Regions from separate parts of the Homo sapiens genome. Here regions 1, 2, 4 and 5 are each linked to region 3. The links are contacts of gene promoters, found by promoter capture Hi-C in human tissues and cell types (Jung and others, 2019). All regions are on one chromosome and are shown on one strand. Each heading gives the region's core, a stretch centred on a gene start or on the middle of the fragment in contact. The rest is flanking DNA. Distances are from core to core; before and after follow the strand shown. Region 1 has its middle 67 kb from the start of EBF2. Region 2 overlaps LOC105379336 (a long non-coding RNA gene). Region 3 holds the start of PNMA2 (PNMA family member 2). Region 4 has its middle 12 kb from the start of EBF2. Region 5 has its middle 78 kb from the start of PPP2R2A.

The links. The method cuts DNA at HindIII sites, captures the fragments that hold promoters and counts their contacts. A contact is called where the count stands out against the background at its distance.
Region 1: a contact is called between a fragment that was not itself captured here and the fragment with the promoter of PNMA2 in region 3, in 2 of the 25 tissues and cell types used here (IMR-90 fibroblasts and aorta).
Region 2: a contact is called between a fragment that was not itself captured here and the fragment with the promoter of PNMA2 in region 3, in 2 of the 25 tissues and cell types used here (dorsolateral prefrontal cortex and hippocampus).
Region 4: a contact is called between a fragment that was not itself captured here and the fragment with the promoter of PNMA2 in region 3, in 2 of the 25 tissues and cell types used here (IMR-90 fibroblasts and stomach).
Region 5: a fragment that was not itself captured here is called in contact with the fragment with the promoter of PNMA2 in region 3 in 2 of the 25 tissues and cell types used here (bladder and stomach).

The regions. Positions count from the first base shown.
Region 1 is chr8:26,110,844-26,113,607 of GRCh38, forward strand. No RefSeq gene overlaps it. Among named protein-coding and RNA genes, the nearest start is that of EBF2, 67 kb to the left of the region's middle. The HindIII fragment of the contact is 8,659 bases long and covers 1-2,764 here.
Region 2 is chr8:26,159,682-26,162,381 of GRCh38, forward strand. All of the region lies in intron 2 of LOC105379336 (a long non-coding RNA gene), which reads right to left. Among named protein-coding and RNA genes, the nearest start is that of EBF2, 120 kb to the left of the region's middle. The HindIII fragment of the contact is 3,893 bases long and covers 1-2,700 here.
Region 3 is chr8:26,512,567-26,515,266 of GRCh38, forward strand. It overlaps PNMA2 (PNMA family member 2), which reads right to left and starts at 1,306. Exons shown (of 3, transcript NM_007257.6): 1 at 1,250-1,306. It overlaps DPYSL2 (dihydropyrimidinase like 2), which reads left to right and starts at 1,465. Exons shown (of 14, transcript NM_001197293.3): 1 at 1,465-2,113. The coding sequence starts at 1,760. RefSeq lists an enhancer at 1-420. The HindIII fragment of the contact is 13,621 bases long and covers 1-2,700 here.
Region 4 is chr8:26,056,519-26,059,218 of GRCh38, forward strand. No RefSeq gene overlaps it. Among named protein-coding and RNA genes, the nearest start is that of EBF2, 12 kb to the left of the region's middle. The HindIII fragment of the contact is 4,310 bases long and covers 1-2,700 here.
Region 5 is chr8:26,211,697-26,214,531 of GRCh38, forward strand. No RefSeq gene overlaps it. Among named protein-coding and RNA genes, the nearest start is that of PPP2R2A, 78 kb to the right of the region's middle. The HindIII fragment of the contact is 5,840 bases long and covers 1-2,835 here.

The DNA of each region.
Region 1 (2,764 bases), core at 224-2,723, 400 kb before region 3:
ATTCTATTGAGTGTGGTTTCTTTACAGGCTGAGAGAGATGCTTTAAGTCTCTGCAAGGTGCCACAGTTCCTTCTGAATCATTAAGGAAGAATGGAATTGTTTATCTTCAGATGACTTTTAAAGTTTGCAAAGCTAGTAATCCCTATATGAGTCACATATAAGAGCTCTTAGCAATCAGTGTACTTTATAAGAAAACAATTCAATCCCCAAGCATGTAGGGTGATTCTGCTGCCCTACCACAGGCACCTGTTACTAGGAACAGGTGTAGGGAGACTTGCTATTGCCTAATGTCTACCTGCCGACTATCCAGAGCAAGTTTCAGAACATGTGGGTTCTGGTTTCTCCTCTCACACGGAAACCACTAACCTCATCTGCTGGTTCAGTTCTGTGTCCTCCCCAACCAGACTCCAGACACCCTCAAAGGAGTACCCTAGCTCTAGCCGTCAGAGGAATGAGCCCTCCTGATATCTTTAAATGTCTTCCTAAGGCTTTCAGGAGCAAACTTGATTCTCTCCAAAGCAAACTGGTAACTCAGAAAGCACCAACTCTTGCCTTTTAGCTCAATTCCATCACGCCTTCTTCAGATAGGTATCTATAGCTAGACTCCAGCCCCTCCTTCTCAGCCATTTACAGCAGTGATTCTCAACCTTGGCTTCCATTAGAGTCATTATAGAAGAAGACCTACCTGGCTTGCTGCCACCAAAGACTGTGCTTCCACAAATTCTCCAACAAATCTCCGTCTACCAACAACAATAACAACAAAAAGAATCATTACAGAAGCTTTTAAAAATATCAATGCCTAACTCTCAACACAAACAAAAATTAACTCAAAATATCAAAGACCTAAATGTAAGAGTGAAAATTACAAAACTCTTAGAAGAAAACAAGGGTGTATGTTGAACTTAGCAATGGATTCTTAGATATGAGACCAAAAGCACAGTCAACAAAATTAAAAATACATAAATCAGACTTCATCAAAATTAAGAACTTTTGTGTATCAAAGAATACTAGCAAGAAAGCAAAAAGACAACCTACAGAATGGGAGAAAATATTTGCAACTTATACATCTGAGTGTATAAAGGTCTAGTATCCAGAATATATAACTCTTACAACTCATTAAAAATGACAAGCAACTCAATTTAAAAATGGGCAAAGGACTTGAATAGACAGTTCCCCAAAGATACAGAAATAGCCAAGAAGCAGATGAAAAGATGTTCAACATTAGTCATTAAGAAAATGCAAATCGCCATGCACAGTGGCTCACATATGTAATCCCAGTACTTTGGGAGGCCAAGGTGGGTGGATCACCTGAGGTCAGGAGTTCGAGACCAGCCTGGCCAACATGGTGAAACCCCATCTCTACTAAAAACACAAAAATTAGCCGGGCATGGTGGCTCACACCCATAGTCCCAGCTACAGGCATGAGAATCACTTGAACCTGGGAGGCAGAGGTTGCAGTGAGCCAAGATCCTGCCACTGCACTCCAGCCTGGGCGACAGAGAAAGACACTGTTTCAAAAAAAAAAAATATATATATATATATATGTATATATATATATATATATATATATATGCAAATTAAAATCACAATGAAATACCAACTTACATCCACTAGAATGCCATATTTAAAAAAAAAAAAAAGGAAAATCACAACTGTTGGCAAGGAGGTGGAGAAACAGGAACATTGCTGGTAGGATTGTAAAATGGTGCAGCCACTGTAGAAAATAGCTTGGCAGTGCCACAAAAAGTTAAAGATAGAGTTACCATATGACCCAGCAACTCTACTCCTATGTATACAACCAAAGTAATTGAAACCAGGCATTAAAACAAAAATTTGTACATGAGGCTGGGCACAGTCGCTCACATCTGTAATTCTAGCACCATGGCAAGCGGAAGCAGACAGATCACCTGAGGTCAGGAGTTCAAGACCAGCCTGGCCAACATGATGAAACCCCGTCTATACTACAAAATACAAAAACTAGGCTGGGAGCAGTGGCTCACACCTGTAATCCCAGCACTTTGGGAGGGCGGGGCGGGCAAATCACTTGAGGTCAGGAGTTTGAGACCAGCCTGGCCAACATGGTGAAACCCTGTCTCTACTAAAAATACAAAAAAATAAGCCAGACGTGGTGGTGGGTACCTGTAATCCCAGCTACTCAGGAGGCTGAGGCAGGAGAATTGCTTGAATCTGGGAGGCGAAGGTTGCAGTGAGCCAAAATCGCACCACTGCACTCCAGCCTGGGCAACAGAGCGAGACTCTGTCTCAATAAAATAAAATAAAAATACCAATACAAAAATTAGCCAGGCCAAGTGGCACACACCTGTAATCCCAGCTACTTGGGAGGTTGAGGTCAAGGGATCACCTAAGCCCAGGAAGGTCGCGGCTGCAGTGAGCCAAGATCACGCCACTGCACTCCAACCTGGGTCACAGAGTGAGACTCTGCCTCAGGAAAAAAAAAAAAAAAAAAAAAAGTACATGAATGTTCATAGCAGCATTCTGCATAGTAGCCAAAAAGTGGATACAATCCAAATGTCCATCAGCAAATGAAGGGATAAGCAAAATGTGGCATATCCATACAGTGGAGTATTATTCAGCCATGGAAAGGAATGAAGTGCTGATAGATGCTACAACATGGATAAACCTTGAAAACGTGCTATGAGAGACAGCAGACAAAAAGTCACATTTTGTGTATTATTCCATTTATATGAAATATCCAGAAGAGGTGAATTCATAGAAACAGAAAGCAGAATTGTTGTTGCTAGAA
Region 2 (2,700 bases), core at 142-2,641, 350 kb before region 3:
AGAAAATGGGATTTTCTTTTCTATCACATTGTCGAGCTGCAAATTTTCCAAACATTTATGCTCTGTTTCTCTTTTAAAACTGATTGCTCTTAGAGCACCCAAGTCATCTTTTGAATGCTTTGCTGCTTAGAAATTTCTTCCACCAGATACCCTAAATCATCTTTCTCAAATTTAAAGTTCCACAAATCTCTAGGGCAGGGGCAAAATTCTGCCAGTCTCTTGGTTAAAACATAACAAGAGTCACCTTTGCTCCAGTTCTCAACAAGTTCTTCATCTCCATCTGAGACCATCTCAGCCTGGACCTTATCATTCATATTACTGTCAGCATTTTTGTCAAAGCCATTCAACAAGTCTCTTAGAAGTTCCAAACTTTCCCACATTTTCTTGTCTTCTTCTGAGCCCTCTAAACTGTTCCAACTTCTGCCTGTTACCCAGTTCCAAAGTTGCTTCCACATTTTTGGGTATCTTTCAGCAGTGCCCTACTCAATTGGTACCAGTTTACTGTATTAGTCCGTTTTCATGCTGCTGATAAAGACATACTCTAGACTGGAAAGAAAAAGAGGTTTAATGGACTTACATTCCACATGGGCTGGAGAGGTCTCACAATCACGGCAGAAGGCAAGGAGAAGGAAGTCACATCTTACACGGATGGTGCCAGGCAAAGAGAGAGCTTGAGCTTGTGCAGGGAAACTCCCATTTTTAAAACCATGAGATCTCGTAAGACTCATTCACTACCATGAGAACAGTGCAGTAAAGACCCTATCCCATAATTAAATCACCTCCCACTGGGTTCCTCCCACAACACATGGGAATTGTGGGAGTCACAATTCAAGATGAGATTTGCATGGTGACACAGCCAAACCATATCACCTACCCTACTTAAACATGCTCAGAACACTTTCAGTATCCAAAAAATTACATGAGATAGTCAACACTTTATTATAAAATAGGCTTTGTGTTAGATGATTTGGCTCAGCATCACAAGAGAGTATCATTCTGTATATCACTTGCCTGGGAAAAGACCAAAATTCAAAATTCAAAAAGTGCGGTTTCTACTGAATGTGCCTCGTTTTTGCACCATCGTAGAGTAAAAAAATTGTAAATTGAACCATTGTAAGTTGAGGACTGTCTGTGTATATGCTAGGTCAAGACTGGAAGTGAACTAAAATGAAAGTAGTTGCTTTAGGTGAGTGAGTTTATAGCTGATTTTTTTCTCTTCTTCTTTCTTTTCCCTTCCCCTTCCTATCCTGAAACAATTTAGCCCTAAAGCCATTAGGAGGGGCAGAGTAAGGTAGGTGGGACAAGGGGGTGTGGGGATGGGGGCACCAGAGCAGAATTGAGAGCCCAGCAGGCAAGAAGTGCATGCATGTTTGGCACAGGGTGCCTAAAAGGAAAGAAAAAACAATTCAGTTTTTCTCTATCCTCAACACTTCTGACAACAAATATATGGGTTTTTTCCATGCCAAGCAGTTCTCCAATTTTCAGCAAAGACACCAACTGAGTGTCCTTCAATTTTGACACTAATTTTCTGGAGTTAACATCTGCTGTGGTTTATTCATCCCCACCAAATCTCACATTGAAATTTGATCCCAAATATGGTGGTGTTTGGTATATTAGGAGATGTTTGGTTCGTCCTCATAAATAGATCATAGCCTTTCCTGGGGGTGGGGAGTGGGTGAGTTTTCACTCTGTTAGTTCTGTGAAAGCTGGTTGTTAAAGAGAGCCTGGCACCTTCTGCCTCTCTCCTGCTTCCTCTCTCACCATGTGATCTCTGCACACGCCGGCTCCCCTTCAACTTCTCTGTGAGTGGAAGCAGCCGAAGGCCCTCACCAGATGTAGATGCCTAACCTCCAGAAAAGACTGAGGCAAGTATCAATCAATTTAGAGGTTTATTTTACCAAAGTTGAGGATGTACCTGGGTTGTAGGGGAAGGGGGCAGTGACCACAAGTCACAGGAGCACCTGTGACCTGTGACTTTTCTGAGAGAGTTTTGAGGACTTCAATATTTAAAAGGGAAAGAGCAACCAAGAGGTGAAGGAGGAAAGAAATAAAGGAGGGAAGGTAGGCAATGAGGCAGGTACATTCTGGGGAGGCTTTGATTAGTGCTCACTGAATCTACATTTTACATGTGAAAAGTGGAGGTAGAGGAGCAGTCAATTATGCATTCATCTCATGCTCAGTAAATCTACATTTTACATAAGATAAACAGAGTAGAGGAACAGTCAATTATGCATTCATCTCATGCTCAGTAAATCTACATTTTACATAAGATAAACATAAAGTAGAGGAAGCAGTCAATTATGCATTTGTCGTGGGGTGGGTGGAGGGATGGCTCCGGTCTTGTCCTTGTCCGATACCTGTGAATATAAGCTATTAATTTGTATTGTCAGGATGAAATTCAACAGACCTCTGTTTTAGGATTAGTTAACTGAAAGATTTGAGGGCCCACAAGGAATTTCCTTGAAAGCAATTTGTGAAAGCACTACCTGGGGAGATACATGGCCTTTGATCACTGCAGCTAGATAGATGGTTTAGGAACAAACAGAAAGGCAGTTTTTGTTGTTGTTGTTGTTGTTGTTGTTTGTTTTTTGCATAACTCAGTTTCCAAGCTTAACTGTCCCTTTGGCATAGTGAGTTGGGGTTCCAACATCGTGTTTTTCATTCACAATGGCAACACAAAATAGACTAAGACAGCATCAA
Region 3 (2,700 bases), core at 56-2,555:
CCTACGCGGTGGCCCTGCGGTAAACGGCCTCTCAGCCCAAACCCACCCTGGTTACTGAGCATGCCCAGAACTCCCTCCCGGGCCACCAAAGGAGGGGCACCATTTCTGCAGGATTTTGCCACTGTGGAAAGAGAGGCGGAGCTGTCATCGCGCAGAGGCAGGGACTGATACGCGGAAAGGACGTGGAGATGGGAATAAGCAATGAAGGACCAGCATTGACCGTGTTAGGCACACAAATCTAATTGCCCCCTGGTTACTTACCAACCCGGTGGCCGTGGCTCAGCTACTGCACACACACACCAAGTTCCTACACACCTTTCCCCTGCTTGGCCCCACACAATTCATGGCACTCACAGCCCACATCCTACCTCCTACTCCGCACCAGATGCGCACCCGCACTTACTCCCCAAACACGTGGCATCTGGTAACCCGGGAAACGCTGCGACTGTGGCGCAGTGCGCAACAGGGGCGGGGGAACCAGGCGGGGCTCTGGGGCGCAGGGGAAAGCTGGAGATTTGGGAAGGGGGTTTCAGTTTGTTTTTTCTCTCTTTTTTTTTTTTTTTTTTTTTTTTTGGTGGAGGAAGCAGAATAAACCAAATCGCGACACGTTCCTGCGCCCTTCTTGGCGCAGTGGCGCAGACACGGTCCATGGCGCCTTGCGCAATAGAGTCGGTCTGCACCCCGTCTTTAAGTCGTGGCCCTGGGCTGGAATTCCCGACTGCACTCTTTGCTACACCCCCATAGACCGCAGACCTGCGTCTCTCTCTATATTCCTCTCCCATCTGCTACGCCCCTCTGAATTTCTTCCCGCCATGTTGTGTGCCCCCCCCCCACTCCCCCGTCACCCCAACCACACCAAAGTGGATGCACGAAGCGGGAACCTTCTCGTTTCAGTCTCTGCTCCCTGCAGCCTGCCAAGGCGAGTGGACAAACTGAAGCTGGGGTGTCCAGCGTCTTGGCTGCCCCCCTCCTGTCCACCCTGCCTGTGCTATCCTTGCTCATCTTCAGTGCCATCCCGCTTCCCACACCCTGAGTAGCCTGGCGCCCGGCTTGTCCCCTTTTCCCATCCATCAGCTCACACCCAGGGTAACGGGGCGGGACCCCTATCCACAGTGCGCCCTCGCCCCCGGCCCACCTCCGCCATGCGGCGGGGCAGAGGCGCCTGGGCCAGGCAGGTGGAGGAGAGGGGCACTGGGGCTGGGGGCTGCGTCCTCCGGTCCTCACTCCGCGTGCCCTGCCCGATACTTACCCAGGCGCGGAGAGCGGTCAGCGGGCCCTCCGCTCCGCATCCATTAGCTGGTGGTCTGGCCGCTTCACTTCCGGAGCGCGGGGCTAGGGGCGGTGCCGCCCTCCCCTCTCTCTCTCCTTCCCTCCCCTCCAGCCCTCCCCTGAGCACCGCTCCCCTCCCCGGCGCCGCGCCCCGCCCGCGCCTCCCTCCTCCCAGCGCTGCCGGGAACTGGCAGCCTTTCGGCTCCCGCAGCCGCAGCGGACGCCCTCCCAGATCCAACTTTGCCGCTTCCCCGAGCTCGCGCTGTAGCCGCGGGGGGCGTGGGCAGGGAGGGGAGAAGCGGGGTCAGGGGGAGGGACCGGGAGGGTGGGTCGCCGGCTCGCCAGCCCTCCTTCCTTTCTGTGCACCTTGCGGTGGGCGGCGAACGGCAGCCGCGGCAGCAGCTAGGGGGCTTGTGCACACAGCGAGGGAGACTTAGGGACTGGCAGACGGACGGACGGACGGCGAGGACCCTACCCGAGCCCCCGAGCCATGGCCGAGAGAAAGCAATCCGGGAAGGCGGCAGAGGACGAAGAGGTCCCTGCTTTTTTTAAAAACCTGGGCTCCGGCAGCCCCAAGCCCCGGCAGAAATTCTGTGGCATGTTCTGCCCGGTGGAAGGGTCCTCGGAGAACAAGACCATCGACTTCGACTCGCTGTCGGTGGGCCGGGGCTCGGGGCAGGTGGTGGCTCAGCAGCGGGACGTCGCCCACTTGGGCCCGGACCCGCAGCCGCCGTACTCGCGGCAGGGCCGGCGCGCCGGCGGAGAGCCATCTGTTGAATCGGGCCGGAAGGTGGAGATCCGGAGGGCCTCGGGCAAAGAAGCCCTGCAGAACATCAACGACCAGGTCGGTGTGGGGGTTGGGGGTGGAGACGGAGGACGGGGCGCGGGGATCGCCCCTCCCTCGCCCCTGAGCCCGGCGCGCCCGCCTTCATGCCCCGCCCTGGACCTCGCCTCCCGCATCTGCACGCGCACCCCGCCCTACCCGCCCCTTCTCCGCGCAGGGTGCGGCGAGGCTCGGGCTGGGCGGTGGGCGGCCGTGCGCCCACAAAGGCTGCCCGCGTCTCCTTGAGCTTGAGAGGTGGGGCGTGGGCATAGGGAATGGGCTGATCCCCTGCTGGGGCGGGCGGTGGTCGTCTGGGAGGGGGTTGGCCGCGGTTCCATTCTTCTGAAACCCTCCCGGGCGGCTTCCGATTGCAGCTGCGGCTGGGTGCCCCACCCTTTTTTTGAGCGGCTCAGAGCGTGCGGTGGAGGCTTTGCGTGAAGGCCCGCGGCTCCCCGGTGGTCGGGAGGGGCGGGGGTTCGGACGGCCGCTCCCTACAGCCTCCGCCCGCGCCTTCTGCGCTCACGTCCCGAGCTCCGAGGCCAGGACCATGGTCAGCGCCCCCCGGACCCCCTCCGAGCACCGCACCGCCCTTGACTCCTGCTCGCAGC
Region 4 (2,700 bases), core at 37-2,536, 460 kb before region 3:
ATTTGGATAATTTTTATTCTCATATAAAATAATCTATATCATTAATATTTTTAAATACATTACCATAGAGCTGTACCTTGTATTCTGCTATAACTTTAATTTTCTGTATCTGAAACAATTTTTTCCCATTGCCAGAGTTGAATATTTTCATTTTGCATCCTGTTTTATTTATTTATTTTTAATACTTTAAGTTGTGGGTTATATGTGCAAAACGTGCAGTTTTGTTACATAGGTATACATGTGCCATGGTGGTTTGCTGCACCCATCAACCCACCACCTACATTAGGTGTTTCTCCTAACGTTATCCCTCCCCTAGCCACCCACCCCCCGATGGACTTGGAACCAACCTAAATGTCCTGTTTTATTTTTATTCCTCCAGACTTTTCTAATTTATACTCCCATCAACAGGGCACCAGAAACTTGGTATTATCTGACTTTGTAATTTTGGCAAATCTGATGGGTATAAAGATATATCTTGCTGTTGTTTTAATGTGCATTTCTTTGCTTGCTGGTGAAGTTGAGCATCTCTTCAAACGTTTTTTAACCATTTGGATCCCCCACCAATTAACCACTTATTGATAGCATTTTTCCACTGGATTTTCAGCCTTGGAGATGGTTGTTGCTGCTGCTTCTGCTGCTGTTGATGTTGATGATTGGCGGAAGGATTTTATATGTTTAGATGTTAATTGTCAGTTTTAGATGTTACAGATATTATCTCTTAATCTGTCATTTGTCTATAACTTGGTCAGTGTTGTCCTCTGCTGATTAGCAATGCTTTATTTTTATCTGGTCAATTCCGTCCACTTTTGTGCTTTGGAGTCCTACTTAAGAAGTCTTTCTACACCTCAAAATTACACAAAAAAATCCAACACTTCTAATTTCGTCTTTTACATCCACATGTTTAATCCCATGCATATGAGATTAACTTGTGACATTGTCTAAAATAGTGGTCCAGATTCTGTTTTCTCCATTAAATGAGCTATAACTGAACTATTATACCACCAAATGCCTTGTAGCATGGCAAGAAAGAAAATTGTCCCAAATATGGTCTGGGACACAATTTTCTTTATGTATGTGATATAATTTATAATTCCTTCTGGGAAATAATTAGCATCCTTGTGTGATTTTTTGGTAGACTTTATTGAGCTCAAGAGCATCTTCTGAGAAGCTATCAGTCTTGAGAAGAGTCTGATAACATTAACTGGCACTGCCTTATTGTATTTTTCTACAACCTCTTCTTCAAAGAAAAAAATCTGCAATGGCTGGCTCAGGACCTTCTTTCCCCAGGGCAAATCTGAAATAAAGCTTTGACATGAGCCTGTAAGAATTTTTTCAGAAAGGGTACTTTAACAACAGCCTACATAGTCTTCAGCTCTTCTAGATAGAACTGAAGACTGTATGGATGAACCTTCCCCTCCATCCACTCACGCCTGTAATATGTCTTAGAGAAATTCCTTAAAGTTTATTATATGAGAATAGCACCTCTGTCTAGTTTCCAGCAATAATGGGCTTTTAAAAATTATATTTCTCAGTATTTGAGAAGTTTCTTGGACATGACATGTGGATATTATCATTTTTTACAACAATATCACTGCCTCCATTACAGTTCTGTTTGGTAAAACTTCCCAAGAATTGTTTAGAATCTTTAAGTGTTAATTCCCAGTATTTTTACTCTCATTGAAATGACAATTTAAGTTGTTTAAAGTGTTATTTTCCCAGTAGTTCTACAATGGTTCATAAATGATCTCTTTCTTTAAACTGCCAATTCTCTTTCTATGTCTAAGGACTTTACATATTCAGTGCTCTTCCTACAGAGGGGAGTGAATTTGAATATTTGGGGTGAGCTACTTAACATCAGCATGCTTCACTGTTTTCATGTATAAAACATAATGATGATATAGTTTAGAAATTTTTTATTGTTTTTCAGGTAATGGGAGTTGAGACTGAGTCCCAGATGGATTTTTATTCAGATCCTCCAGGCCTTAATGAAAAAAGAATCAGAAGCTTTAGGTTATTGTGCATTTTACTTCTCTAGATTTAAGCTCCAATGGGCTATGGAGAACAGGAAGGCAGCTACAACTACAAGCAGCCGTACCAGGGAGCTTCATCTTCATGTCGGAGGGTTTTGTTTTTTTTTTTTGAGATGGAGTCTCTGTTGCCCAAAGTGGAGTGCAGTGGCTCAATCTCTACTCACTGCAACCTCTGCCTCTCAGGTTCAAGTGATTCTCATACCTTAGCCTCCCGAGTAGCTGGGACTACAGGTGTGCACCACCATGCCCAGCTAATTTTTGTATTTTTAGTAGAGACAGGGTGTCACCATGTTAGCCAGGCTGGTCTAGGACTCCTGACCTCAGGTGATCCACCCGCCTCAGCCTCCCAAAGTGCTGGGATTACGGGCATGAGCCACCATGCCCAGCCCATGTCTGAGAGTTTTATCTTTATATTTCTTAGGACAACCTAATGTTAACTGCAACAGTGATATTTTATTTAGGGTTCCTCTGCCCTCCTTAGGGTCAATCTCTGTAGCACCCATACCGTGTTTAGGATACATCCCAAACAGATAATATTATGTGTGTCAGAGTAGGCCCTCACCCTGAGCCTCTCCCTGTGCCCAGTGCACAGCTGGGAGGCACAGGTAGAACTCAGCTCCCCATGCCATCTCCAGGTCCGTCTGCTCTGAGTTAGGGCATGCTGGTGGAG
Region 5 (2,835 bases), core at 280-2,779, 300 kb before region 3:
CTGCACTCCAGCCTGGGCGACAGAGCCAGACTCTGTCTCAAAAATAAAATAAAAAATAAAAAAATAAAAAAAGTAAGGGTTCTAGGCCAAATGGTTTGGTTCAAGTTCAAGTCTTTTTTTTTTTTTTTTTTTTTTTTTGAAACAGAGTCTTACTCTGTTGCCCAGGCTGGTCTGCAGTGGCCCCATTCTGGCTCCCTGCAACCTCTGCCCTCTGGGTTCAAGCAATTCTCCTGCCTCAGCCTCCCGAGTAGCTGGGATTGCAGGCGCCCACTACCATGCCCAGCTAATTTTTGTATTTTTAGTAGAGATGGGGTTTCTCCATGTTGGCCAGGCTAGTCTTGAACTCCTGACCTCAAGTAATTCACCTGCCTTGGCCTCCCAAAGTGCTGGGATTATAGGCGTGAGCCACCATGCCTGGCCCCTGGTTCATCTCTTGGCTTATTATTAGTGATGGAGCTGAGATAAATTACTTGATTTCTGTGAACCTCCACCTCCTTATCTGTAAAATGAGGGATAATAAGAGATCCCAACTCATTAGTTAACTGGGTAAATAAGTCAATTAATGTAAAGTTATTGGCATGGCCTCTTACTGGCCTGTGATACTAGGGCTCAGTAAATGTGAGTTATTATTGTCAGAATGAAAGGAGACAATGAGTGAACAGCACGTGGCCCATAGTGAGTGTGGAGAAAATATTGTTTGGTATCATTACATCCCAACTTGAGCTTATTTCTCTGGACTTCTTTGTCTCACTCTGAAAAGCCTGCTCCCCTCCAATGTTCCCTCGCTCCGCAGATGGGGTCTTTATGCTCCCATTTTCCTACACACACACCTCCCCCCCGATATCCAAGCAATCACCAGGTTCTAGCTGCTGGGCCATATTAATCCCTTGCCAATCAATCTACTTCTTTCCATCCCTGGTTCCAGCCTGTAAGTGTCTTGTTAGGGACTGAATGTTTGTGTTATCACCTCAATTCACATGTTGAAATCCTAACCCACAATGTGATGGTATTCGAAGGTGGGGCTTTCGGATGGTAGTTAAGTCATAGGAGTGGAGCCCTCGATAATGGCATTAGTGCCCTTATAAAAGAGACCCCAGAGAGCTCCGGAGCTCTTTCAGCCACCTGAGGACACAGTAAGAAGACGGCGGTCTCTGAACCAGGAAGTGGGCCCTCACCAGATACCAAATCTGCTGGAGCCTTGATTTGGGGTTTCTCAGCCTCCAAAACTGTGAGAAACAAGAAGCTGGAGATGATTGCAACACCTCTTCCTTGCATTAGGGCAAAGCTTCCTCCTGATCTCTCTGCCTCTAGTCTTGTCCCTGGCCAATCCATTCTTCACACTGCAGCAAGAGTGACTGTCCAAAATGCGCATCTAATCCAGTGATTTCCCTGAGGGCTTCGCTTTGCCCTCAGGCTGAAGTCCAATTATCTAATTGGATTGCAAAGCTTGTTAAGGTATGAACTTTGCTTTCCTCTCCAGAGTCAACTCCCAAACTCATTTCACTTTGTTTCTAGATACTGCTTTCTGGAGCCTCTGTATCCAGTGTTTTCTTCTAGAACCTCCTCACCTCACCACCCGGGTCCTCCAGCTCACTGCTTGGATGTCACTGGCACTAGGAAGTTTATCTGATTGCCACCAAACTAGATAGGGTGGTTGCCTCCTATTTACTCTCCTAGAAATGCCACCAAACTAGATAGGGTGGTTGCCTCCAATTTACTCTCCTAGAAACATGTGACTCTGCTGACAGTTATCACACTGTTTATAATTGCCTGTTTGTTTTCCACCTTTAGACCATAAAAGTCACCAAATAATGGTTAAATGCATATATGGGCAACAAACAAACAGCTGCTCTTTATCCTAAGTGGCCTGTGACACTGTTAGTGACTCTTGCAACAACGTGGGTGGCCCTTTTCCAACCTCTCCCTAACAACATATGTGCAATGCACCACCAGGCATACAGGCAGGAAATCAGGAGAGCTGAGTTTAAGTTGTGTCTTTGCCATTTACTAGCTATGTGATCTTGGTAAAGCCACTTACACATTTTGAGTATCAGTTTCCTCATCTAAAAAGTGGGGAAAATATGGCCGGGCACAGTGGCTCATGCCTGTAATCCCAGTACTTTGGGAGCCCAAGGCGGTGGATTACTTGAGGTCAGGAGTTCAAGACCAGCCTGGCCAACATGGTGAAACCCTGTGTCTACTAAAAATACAAATATATATATATATATATCAGGTGTGGTGGTGTGCACCTGTAATCCCAGCTACTCAGGAGGCTAAGGCAGGAGAATCATTTGAACCCAGGAGACAGGTTGCAGTGAGCTGAGATCATGCCACTGCACTCCAGCCTGGGTGACAAAGCGAGACTCTGTCTTAAAAAAAAAAAACAAAAAAACAGGGAGCGGGATGCAGAATAAGCTCCAATAATGTCTATGTAGCTTTGTAAACTGCAAATCACCACGTGGTGCCAATTCCAACTCTTTCCTTTTTTCGGTTCTTGGTTTGCCCTCTTTTCTGCCTCAGACTCTCTCTTGCTTTCCTTTTCTTCCCCCTCCTCTTGTCCTGCAGGGGCCCCTAAGACTTGGCTGATGGCCTCTCTCTCATGGTTATCAGAGCACCCAGGGACAGAGGGTTACCATTCATTGAGGAGGAGCCCAGAAGAGTCTAGAACTGGTCAGCCAGGACACAGAGTCTGAGCTAACACTGACTCCTGGAGTGTTGCTTTGTCATTTATTCACTAGAGGCCTGCTTCCCCCATCCTTGAGATGCTCTGTGATTTTCACGTAGAATTCCCAGAGCGGCGCCTTGCTTCTCATCCTAAACACTCAACATCGTTAT